2 separate regions of the Homo sapiens genome follow, and region 2 is linked to region 1. The links are contacts of gene promoters, found by promoter capture Hi-C in blood cells and fetal thymus (Javierre and others, 2016). All regions are on one chromosome and are shown on one strand. The core of a region is centred on a gene start or on the middle of the fragment in contact, and the rest is flanking DNA. Distances in the headings are between cores, read along the strand shown. Region 1 holds the start of PALM2AKAP2 (PALM2 and AKAP2 fusion). Region 2 has its middle 3.7 kb from the start of C9orf152.

The links. Contacts are between HindIII fragments. The CHiCAGO score rates a contact against its expected background, and 5 or more counts as called.
Region 2: a contact is called between a fragment that was not itself captured here and the fragment with the promoter of PALM2AKAP2 in region 1, in 1 of 17 cell types (naive B cells). The highest score is 5.5, in naive B cells.

The regions. Positions count from the first base shown.
Region 1 is chr9:109,778,003-109,783,245 of GRCh38, forward strand. It overlaps PALM2AKAP2 (PALM2 and AKAP2 fusion), which reads left to right and starts at 2,196. Exons shown (of 11, transcript NM_007203.5): 1 at 2,196-2,531. The coding sequence starts at 2,487. The HindIII fragment of the contact is 7,761 bases long and covers 1-5,243 here.
Region 2 is chr9:110,209,219-110,214,461 of GRCh38, forward strand. No RefSeq gene overlaps it. Among named protein-coding and RNA genes, the nearest start is that of C9orf152, 3.7 kb to the left of the region's middle. The HindIII fragment of the contact is 4,034 bases long and covers 1,249-5,243 here.

The DNA.
Region 1 (5,243 bases), core at 946-3,445:
CCTTCTCCATCTCCCCATTCCATCACTCCTTTTAAAAATTTATTGCGGTTAAAAATACAAAACTTAAAATTTACCATTTCAACCACTTTTAAGCATATGGTTTGATGACAGTAAGTACATTCACACTGTTGTGCTCAATCATACCTTTTAAATATCTGTATAGCTGGGAGTAGAAGGACCATTTCTGGTTCAATTGTTTATTCCTGGGGCCTGCTTCTATCTCCATATCATTGGCCAAGCCTGGTGCTTAATGGTTAAGAGCATGGGCTCTGGTGAGTGTGATCTGAGTTTAAATCCCAGCTCTATAACTGTAGCTGAGTCTTTCAACCTCTCTGGTCTCATTTTCCTCATCTTAGTATTCTCTACAATCACTCTGCTGAAGCAATAACAGCTTTGTTTATTTGTGAGCAAACCCCTTTAAATAACTTGTCCTGCTGGGGCTTGTGCTGGAAATGAAGAAAAAAGGATGCATTTGAAGAAAAGGATGGGCTTAGCCAGAAAGTAGAAGTTTCTGATATATTGGAGTGGGATGTAGAATCTGGCACTGGCTTGGATTTATTAAACAATCAGCTCCACCTACACTTGTTATGAAAAAGATGGGAAAACAATCCATCAGTAAACGATTTTGGTGAGTGCTTCCATCTTTGGTCAGAGGAGTAATTGTTCATCAGTGACAGGTGAACCTCTGTGAAAATTGAAAGGGCAATTTAGTTGAAATGGAAGCATTTATTCAGGAAACAGGTGATCTGGGAAAATTTGATGTGCATTTTTTTTTTTTTTTTTGAGACAGAGTTTCACTCTTGTTGCCCAGGCTGGAGTGCAATGATGTGATCTCGGCTCACTGCAACCTCTGCCTCCCAGGTTCCAGTGATTCTCCTGCCTCGGCTTCCCAAGTAGCTGGGATTACAGGTGCCTGCCACCACGCCCGGCTAATTTTTTGTATTTTTAGTAGAGAAGGGGTTTCACCATGTTGGCCAGGCTGGTCTCGAACTCCTGACCTTAGGTGATCCACCCGCCTTGGCCTCCCAAAGTGCTGGGATTACAGGTGTGAGCCACCGCATCTGGCCTGATGTGTATATCTTTTAACATGCCTTTAAATCCTATGGCTCTAAAGAGGCCATATTAGTTATTTCAGTGTTTATTTCATTTGATGAAGAAACGTTTGCATATGAATGTTGGGAATTCTAGCAGGTCCTGCCTCAATGTGAAGAGGCATTTTTTTTTGCTTTTGGCATTGATCTCCTTTTGGACTGGGCCTGATCCACTTCTTACATCCAGTCCAGGACCTGTCACAAAAGACTCACATTAGTACCACATGGTATCCTGTTTTAGTAAAGAATAGGTGAAATATTTTAGTGAGTAGATCCTACTTTTCCTTTCAGATGCAATGAACAGAAGACCCTGAAAGGATTTCAATCCAGAATGTCACAGGATAATAAGAGCAGATGTCTGTGATGCCCTTTACAAAGCACCTTTACATACTGTCTCTCATTCGTCTCTAATGACACCTATGTGATCCTCCATTTTTTCAGATGAGGAAACTGAGGTTCAGAGTGATTAAGCGAGTTGCCTGAGATTTCACAGCTAACACATTGTGAAATCTAGTCTAGCACCCAGGACTAAAAACTCTCGGCTTCTTTTAAGGCCACATATCGCCTCACCAGAAGGGTGGCCTCTCTGGAGATATACCCTACCCTCGGCCGACTTGATATTGAGAACTTGGTCATCTTAAGCATGTGGGCCACTTGGGCAAGGCAGCCCTTCCCAAATTGTAAATGTCCCCACGTGGAGCTCAAGCGTCTGGCTTGAGCCAGAAGGTGCCCTGAACACTCGGTGGCCCCAGCCCCCACGTAACAGCACGTGCTCGGGTCCCACATTCGGTCAGACGCCCCTCTCCACTGGCATCTGCCCGGTGGAGGCGCCACTGCGCTCTGCCTCCGCCCCAGCAAGCGCGTGTCCACGCGGGCGCGCCACGCCAGCCGTGCGCCCCAGCGGCTCGCCGTGCGCCCGCGCCCCAGGTGCCCACTGGCTCGCGCGCCCTCCGTCTGCGCCTTGGAGACCCGCGGCGGCGATCGCTCGGAGCCGCCTTGGACCGCGGCCTCGGGTCCATCACACTCCAGGGGCGGAGCGAGGCACCGAGACGTCAGGGCGGAGAACTAGCGCCGGGCTAGCGCGCCCTCCCGGCGGCTGCCGGCGTCCCACGTCCTCGGCTGGCGCGGCCGGCGGCGGCGGCGACCGGGAGATGCAGTGAGCGGCGGCGCTGGGGCGCAGCCAGGCGGCCGGGAGGGCGGGGGCCAGAGGCTGAGCCCGGGCGAGCCCGCCGTGCGCACAGCTCTGCCCGCCGCCCCTGGAGCGGATCCCCAGCCGTCCCTGGGCGTTCTCCCGGGTTCTAGCAAAGCCCCCCGGGGTGCCCATCAGTTTCCTTGGGTGACTACAGCGTGTGTTTTTTCTTTCCTCTTTCCCCTGCCTGTGTGCCCTTCTCCAGGATGGCAGAGGCGGAATTGCACAAGGAAAGGCTGCAAGCCATAGCAGTAAGTCCACTTTCATTTTATTTTCTTGCTCTATTGTCTGGGGTGGAAGGGGGCCCCCGAGGGTTTCGGGGCAAGCGGCATGCCAGCACAGTAGCCGCAGGTCATATGTTCCAGGGGCTAAAACTCTGTCAGGGCTCAGCTAGGCTGCCTTTTCTTTTCTATGTCTATAGATGGAGACCCCCAAGGGCGCGCTTTGGACTGAGGATTTGAATGTGGAAGATTGGCTTAAAAAAAGATGCTTGCTGCTGGGCTTTGGGGAAGGACTAAACAGAGGCTTGGGGTGGGGGGACGACTCCAGGAATATTATGACCGAATGCTCAGGCATACGTTGGCTTCATAGCCTGGAGAACCAAGAGAAGGGTGACCTGAACGGTGGCTGCCATCCTCTCTGCGGAAGCTGTCCTCCTGTTAAGTGGAAAACCAGGAGTCAGCGACTCAGCCAGCCACGCGGTAGAACCTCCTCCCAGAAACCGGGAATGTTAGTTTTCCCTTCTCTGTTTGATATTGACAAGGGCACTGGCACAAGCCACCACCCTGGAGGTCTGGGGACTTCATACAACTGGGTCCTGGTTATAATATTCCATGAGAGCCTCCTTCTTATGGTGTGGAGTATCTGAAAACCTATTTTCAGCCTACAAAGGAGTAGTCAGTTTTGGCAAAGTTCGTAGGCACTTTCAGAAAAGTGTACCCATGTGCATCTTGGGTTTAAAAAAGAACTCTCTGAGACTGCCTAGATTTGAGCAATCTTAACACAGTGTTGCCAATGATCCACAGATGTGGTATTTTTACTGGAGCCACCACAGCTGGATTATATATTTCCTTCGAGGATGAGGGAATGATTACTGCTGCCGTATGAAATAGTAACAATTAAAAAAGAAGGTCCGTTAACATATTGGCATAAAAGAATCTCCAGACATTCTTCCACCTAAATACATTTGTGTTTTTCAGTTCGGAAGTTCTCTGGAAACACATATAAATTTGTTGGAGAAATAGTGTGTAATGTTTTGGAACCAAAGTATATTAAAGCGTTTTCCAAAACCTTTTTGGACAGATTCTTCATTGGGAAAATGCACACAGACCCTTCCTTTTTTAGAAGCATTTGACATGGTCTCCAAGGCTCTGAGACCCTCTTTCTCAAACGCCTCAAATCTGAAATGTCTTGGAGACTTCACCACTGAAGTGAGAGAGATGTTTGCTGGCAATATTGAAATGCCATGGTTTGCCTATTAGGTAATCTTTGAACGTGGTGCTCTGAACTCAGAAAGGTTGTTTTTTTCTTCTTTCTCTTTCCCCCTGTGCATGTGTATTTTGATGGTTTGTGAAGTTATTTGTGGTTTCTAAAGTTGGTGGCAAGGCAGCATGGCCAGTGTGTCATGAACTTGATAAGAATGGTGATATTGAGTTAATGGTGCCATGTAGCTGGTGGGTGTTTTGTGTGAACTGGATAATAGGCTGCTTTAACTGTTGATGCAGTGGCTGTTCCCATTGGCTGCTGCTGAAGGCTTCCAACAGTTGTCACATTTTCTGCCTTTGCACAACCAGCTTTACTGGATGCCTGAGGAACAGCTGAACTCCATGAAAGGACTTGCTTTCCAAACATGGAGCCAGTAGCTGCTAACACTGGGGTACCCTTTTCCAAGTGCGGTTGAGTAATCCCAGCAGAGGCCAAGTCGATTTTCCAAGAAAGATCTAGGCAAATCTTTGGGAATTCTCTTGAGCATATAAGAATACACACAAATACTCACTTGTGCCTCTTCAGTTATTGAAGAATTGAGTTTGTCCTGTGTATCTGGGGAGCTGTTGATTATTCTCATGAATGTGCACCTAATACAGTCTGCCCTCCCTATTCATGGGTTCCATATCCACGCCTTCAGTCAATCTTGGATTGAAACTATTGGAAAAAATAATAGATAGCTGAGTCTGTACTGAACATGTACAGACTTTTTCTTGTCACCATTCCCTAAATAATACAGTATAATCAACTGTTTACGTCGCATTTACAGTGTATTAGGTATTATAAATAATCTGAAAATGATTAATGTATGTGGGAGGATGTGAGTAGGTTATATGCAAATACCATGCTATTTTATAGGGACTTGAGCATCCTTTGATTTTGGTATCCAAGGGGGTCCTGAAACCAATTCTCTGAGGATACTGAGGGATGACTGTATGATGTTGTCAGGACAGATTTGCTAACAGCGTGTGTTTGTTTGTGTGTGTGTGTGTGTGTGTGTGTGTGTGTGTATGTGTGTGTGAGAGAGAGAGCCAATTAAGAGACAGAGGGAGTTGGGTGGGGGGACTTATGGCCACATCGGTAAATGGTTTTATGCTATGCTTTGGTCTAGTGCCTACTCTTCTGAATTCTGCAAACCCTGACTCTCTCATCACTTTCCTGGAGTTCTCAGGGGACCCTGAGGAGATCACAAGCCTGCCCCCAGAACCTAGCACTCCTGAAGTCTCTCTGGAGATGTGAGGGAAGAAGACAATAGGTCCTCACATCTTCACTTACTTGGGCTTCTCTCTCAGAGGCAGAGAATCGACTGGGATTCCAGTCTGCAGGGCCTTGGGCAGTCTTTAGTCTGGGTCTCAGCTCCTTCATCTGTAGAATGGGTTCATGAGTTCTACCTCCTGGGCTGGTTGTAAGGTTTAGTTAGGATGGAGGTGAAGCACCTGGCAGGTAGCTGTCATTGGATGGTGTTGAGCAGAGCCCTT
Region 2 (5,243 bases), core at 2,016-4,515, 430 kb after region 1:
CTGGGACTACAGGCACCCGCCACCGCGCCCAGCTAATTTTTTGTATTTTTCGTAGAGACAGGGTTTCACCGTGGTCTCGATCTCCTGACCTTGTGATCCGCCCGCCTTGGCCTCCCAAAGTGCTGGGATTACAGGCGTGAGCCACCACACCCGGCCTAATATGATGTTCTTCCTATGTGGGTGTCTCTGTGCCCAATTTTCCCCTTTTTATAAGTACAGCAATCACATTGGATTAGAGCTCAATCTGTCTCAAAAAAATACCGAGAGAGATAGCCAAAGCTTCCTCATACCTTTTTATCGGTAGATCACTCTATCATGAAGGCAAGAGCAACCCATCCATGCTGGACCAGCTGCACCTGCCATGAAATCATGGCAGTAGACATCATGGCAGTAGGCTGGCCACAATGGCTCACAACTGTAATCCCAGCACTTTGGGAGGCTGAGGTGGGTGTATTGATTGTGCCCTGGAGTTCAGGACCAGCCTGGGCAACATAGTGAAACTCTGTATCTACAAAAATTAGCCAGGCATGGTGGCACATGCCTGTAGTCCGAGCTACTCGGGTGGCTGAGGTGGGATGATCACTTGAACCCAGAAGCTCGAGGCTGAAATGAGCCATGATTGCACCACTGTACTTCAGCCTGGGTAACAGAGTGAGCTCCTGTCTCAGAAAGAAAAGAGAAGAGAAGAGAAGAGAAGAGAAGAGAAGAGAAGAGAAGAGAAGAGGAGGAGAGAAATAATGGCAGTAGAAATTTCTACTATATTTTCGCATTTACTTGTCAGCCTTCATCTTTTAGTATTAACAGTTTTTGTCTTTTTCTATATGGGTGCGTTTGTGGATATTTTGATGAGAAGTAAATTGAGGCTGTCTACTGCTGATTGAATGCCTTTTAGGAGCTTAAATTCCTTCTTTTAGTTCATATAGTTCCTCTTTCTTTTAAAACTCAAATCTTTAATCCATTTGAAATTTATTTTGGTGTTGTGTTAGGTATAAGGCAAGGATCTAGGGGTTTTTTCCTCCAAATAATTGACCAGTTGTTTCAATAGCACTTACTGAATAAACTTTCCTTTCCTTGGTCTGTGATAACAATAACAATAGTATAAGAAAAAACTGGCAACTCTATCTCATCCCAGGGAGTCTTCAGAAATAAATGAAAAAAGATGATCAAGCCTGGAGTTTGTTCTGGGTGGCTGCCACTAAATGGGTGACTTTCATTATCCAGGTATATCCTTCAGAGGAACTGGAAATAAGCTTCAAAGTTGTTCAGGGCTGGAGACGCTGGAGTAGGAATAAGATGTCTTGTGATTCTAGGGAATATTTTGTTTTTCTGTATATATGTAAACTGTATGGAACATGAAATGTCCCATTCTGGTTGAGAGATAAGACTGTGCTTAATGTAGCAGGTTAGTTCATTACCGGAACCAGCATCCCTACAGCCCTCCCTGGAGCTTCCAGTAAAATAACTTAGACCAGAGGCTCCAGGTCCACTCCTGTCCAGGGGATCCAGCTATTCTGTGAGACTTGAGTGGCAACAGGTATCACTCACAACTGGGGTACCACTCCAGAGAGAATGACTCAGACAATAACCCTGTCCATACAAAGACCAGTCATTGGTGGGTAGAGACTCAGAGACTTGAAGAAGGAATCCCTTAGGGAGCTGGCTTGAGAGCAGCAGGCTGGGTCAGCCCAGTATACAGTGGGGGCAGGACAGGAGTGGTGGATCCTGTTCTTGTGAAGAACTTCAGTTTGGAGTTCTTTCCACTGGAGACTCCAGGAAAACTTGAGTTACCCTGTTCTTTCACTTTTCCTCTCCCCTATAATAAGTTCGCTCTGAGATTATCCCATCCCTGAAGCCTAGTGATCTAGCCTTAGAGAATCAAGAGGGCAAGATTGCAAGGGATGGAGGCTTCCCTGTGCTCTCTTCTCTCTGGTTCCAATGAGGAGGGGACCTTGTCCTATGGAGTGGACTGTGATTTGCAGGTGTATGAATGACAGTGTCCACAGGAGAGCCAAGTATGACGAAGAAGGACTCAGGATGTCAAGAAGTGCTTCAGGGCAGACAGACTAAAAAATTCAAAGCTCTCAGCCTTAAGAGTAAGGGAGATTCCTCTCTGAAAAAAGAGAGGCTAGGCTAGACATATGAAAACAATAGTTATAACCATTGATCTAAAACTGCAGTGGGTCAGATATGTGCTAATCACTCTATGTAAATGATCAATTTTTTCATTATGGTAATATTTGTGTAAATGAAATTGACTATTTTAACAATTTTTCAGTGTACAGTTCAGTGGCATTGCATCCATTCACAGTGCCCTGCAACAATCACCATTATTTCCAGCGTATCCATCATCGCAAACAGAAACTCTGTACCCATTAAATAATGCTCCCCACTTCCCTACATCCCTGGCAACCTCTACTATACTTCCTGTCCCTATGACTTTAGTACCCAACCTAAGTGGAATCATACAATATTTGTAATATATTGGACTGGCTTATTTCACTTAACATGTTGTCAAGGCCCATTCATGTTGTAAACATTCATCAGAACTTCGTTCCTTTTTATGGCTGAATAATATTCCATTGTATGGACAGGCCACAGTTTGTTTACCCATTCATCTGTTGATGGAGATTTGGGTTGTTTCCACCTTTTGGCTATTGGGAATAGTGCTGCTATGAACATTGATATACAAGTGTGTGTTTGCATTCCTGCTGTGAATTCTTTTGGAAAAGCTGGACTATATAATAATTCTATGTTTAGCTTTTTTGAGGAACCTGGACAAAATTAAATTTAATTTCTCATGAGAACACTGTGAGAGAAGAAACATTACTATCCTTTCTCCTTCACCTTTTACACCCAAACCATCTCTAGGCCTGGGAGATACAAGCTCTAAAAGATACCTGAAATCCGGCCAGGTGCGGTGGCTCACACCAGTTATCCCAGCACTTTGGAAGGCCAAGGTGAGTGGATCATCTGAGTCAGGAGTTCAAGACCAGTCTGACCAACATGGTGAAACCCAGTCTCTACTAAAAATACAAAAAATTAGCCAGACGTGGTGGCAGGCACCTGTAATCCCAGCCACTGGGAGGCTGAGGCTGGAGAATCACTTGAACTAGGAGGAAGAAATTGCAAAAAAAAAAAAAAGATACCTGAAATCCATGTATTTCTTTCCACCTCCACTGTCATCCACCTAGCCTATGCTGTCCTCATTTCTTTTTCCAAGACTACTGCAACAGCCTCTTACCTGTCCCCTCCCTCCCACTTCCACACCTGTCCTCTCATCCATTGATCCTTTGACCTCACAGCAGTTAGTGTTCTCCAAAAGACACAAAGCAAATTGGATCTCATGGCTTCTCTCCCAGTTAAATCCTCCAGTGGCCTCCCAATACACTCAAACTCGCATTCAAATCCTTCTTATGGCCCAGGGGGTTGTGCCTGTCTTGGGTCTGTCTCACCTTTCCAGTCTCTGTGTCAACTTTCCCCTTGCTCTCTACTTTCTAGACAAGATTTCCTATAAGTGGGTTCCAGATATGCCTATGACTGAGACCCACAACTCCTGGGCCGGGTGTCTCCAGCCACAAACAGCTTCTGCATTTATTCCAGTGATCTATACAAATAGTGTCATTTTCTAGGTGTGCCATGATGTGAAAGAGGGGAGAAAAGCATTCTCACCGCTTTAGCCTTCTCTGAAGGAATTTCTTGAATTCCACCAATGTCTTTTCCTCCTTGGAGCTTTGGTATGTGCTGTTCTTTGTCTTCTAGAACACTCCTTTACTTACTTTCACCTCAACCGTATCTTCATTATATTTCCATCCTTGGCAGCAACCACATGTCCCCTAGCTAACTTGTAAACACCTTCAGTTCTCAGCTTTAAAAAGTGGTACAGTGTAAGGATTGAGAGCATGAACTATGAAGCTAGACTATGCGGGTTTGCGTCTTATCTTCCCTATTCTTAGCTACTCTCCCCTTGCTCTCTAGAGTCAAGTGTGCCTTTGGGTTAGTTAAGTGACTGGAGTCTTGCTCTGTCACCCAGCCTGGAGTGAAGTGGCGTGATCTCAGCTCACTGCAAGCTCAGCCTTCTGGGTTCAAACGATTCTCCTGCCTCAGCCTCCTCAATAGCTGGGACTACAGTTGCGTGGCACCACACCCGGCTAATTTTTGTATTTTTAGTAGAGATGGGGTTTCACTATGTTGGCCAGGCTGGTCTTGAACTCCTGACCTCAGGTGATCCACCTGCCTCGGCCTAAGTGCTGGGATTACAGGCGTGAGCCACCACACCCGGCCTAAGATGTCCTCTCTTAGCAGTATGCCTTTGGGCCAGTTACTTAACTTCACTGTGCCTGCAGATAGAGCGATTACCAAAGAGAGGGAGCCGGCTTGAGCTGAGCAAACAAGCAAAACGGACTTCATCAAGCATTGCCTTCCAGGTGCTAGGCACGTGACAATATTGCGCATGTGTTGACTCATTTAATCTGTTTAACTCTATAAAGTAGATGCCAAATTATTATTATTATCATCCCCATTTTCCAGATGGGAAACTTGAAACTCAGCAAGGGACTTTCCAACTCCAAATGCTTTTCCTCTCCGGAGCGTCACTGCTCTATGCCAGTTACATACAGAGTAATATATTGGAATGCTATTTGCCTGGGGACAGTAAAGTCCCACCTCCAGCCTTGATCAGGATCCAGGTGTAGTCAACAGATCCCAGTCTGGCTAATTTAAGCAGAAAGAGATTTCACATGGGGAATTGGTGCTGGTAAAATTATTAGCAGAGCAGGAAGAGCAACATTAGGCCTCCAGACCACTCTTCCTCTACCCTTGTAGTTTTTCCAAAGATGGATAAACACTATCTTTCATCTCATATACCCTTTGGCAACTGAGCTTGCCATTCCCTCATCAAGAGGTGGAGCCTGTATCACTTTCTTAAGTGTGAGTTGGTTGAGTGGTATCATTTGGCTAACAGAATGTGGTAGAAATGACTCTGTGTCTGTTCCTGGTGTAGCCCTAACTGCGGCTTCTGGCAGCTTCTGATTCCTGCTGTTTGGAATGCTGACTGTTGGGATGTGCCTCCTCTGAGCCTGGACACCACGTCATGGGCAGCCTGAACAACACAGTGAGGTGTGTCACGGTAGGTGCGTCAGCCACCAAATTCTGGTGAATTCCCAGCCAATAGCTGGCTTCAACTGCCAGAGAGTGAGACCCCAGGACATCCAGCCCAGTTGAGCCATCAAATAACTGTAGCCCGG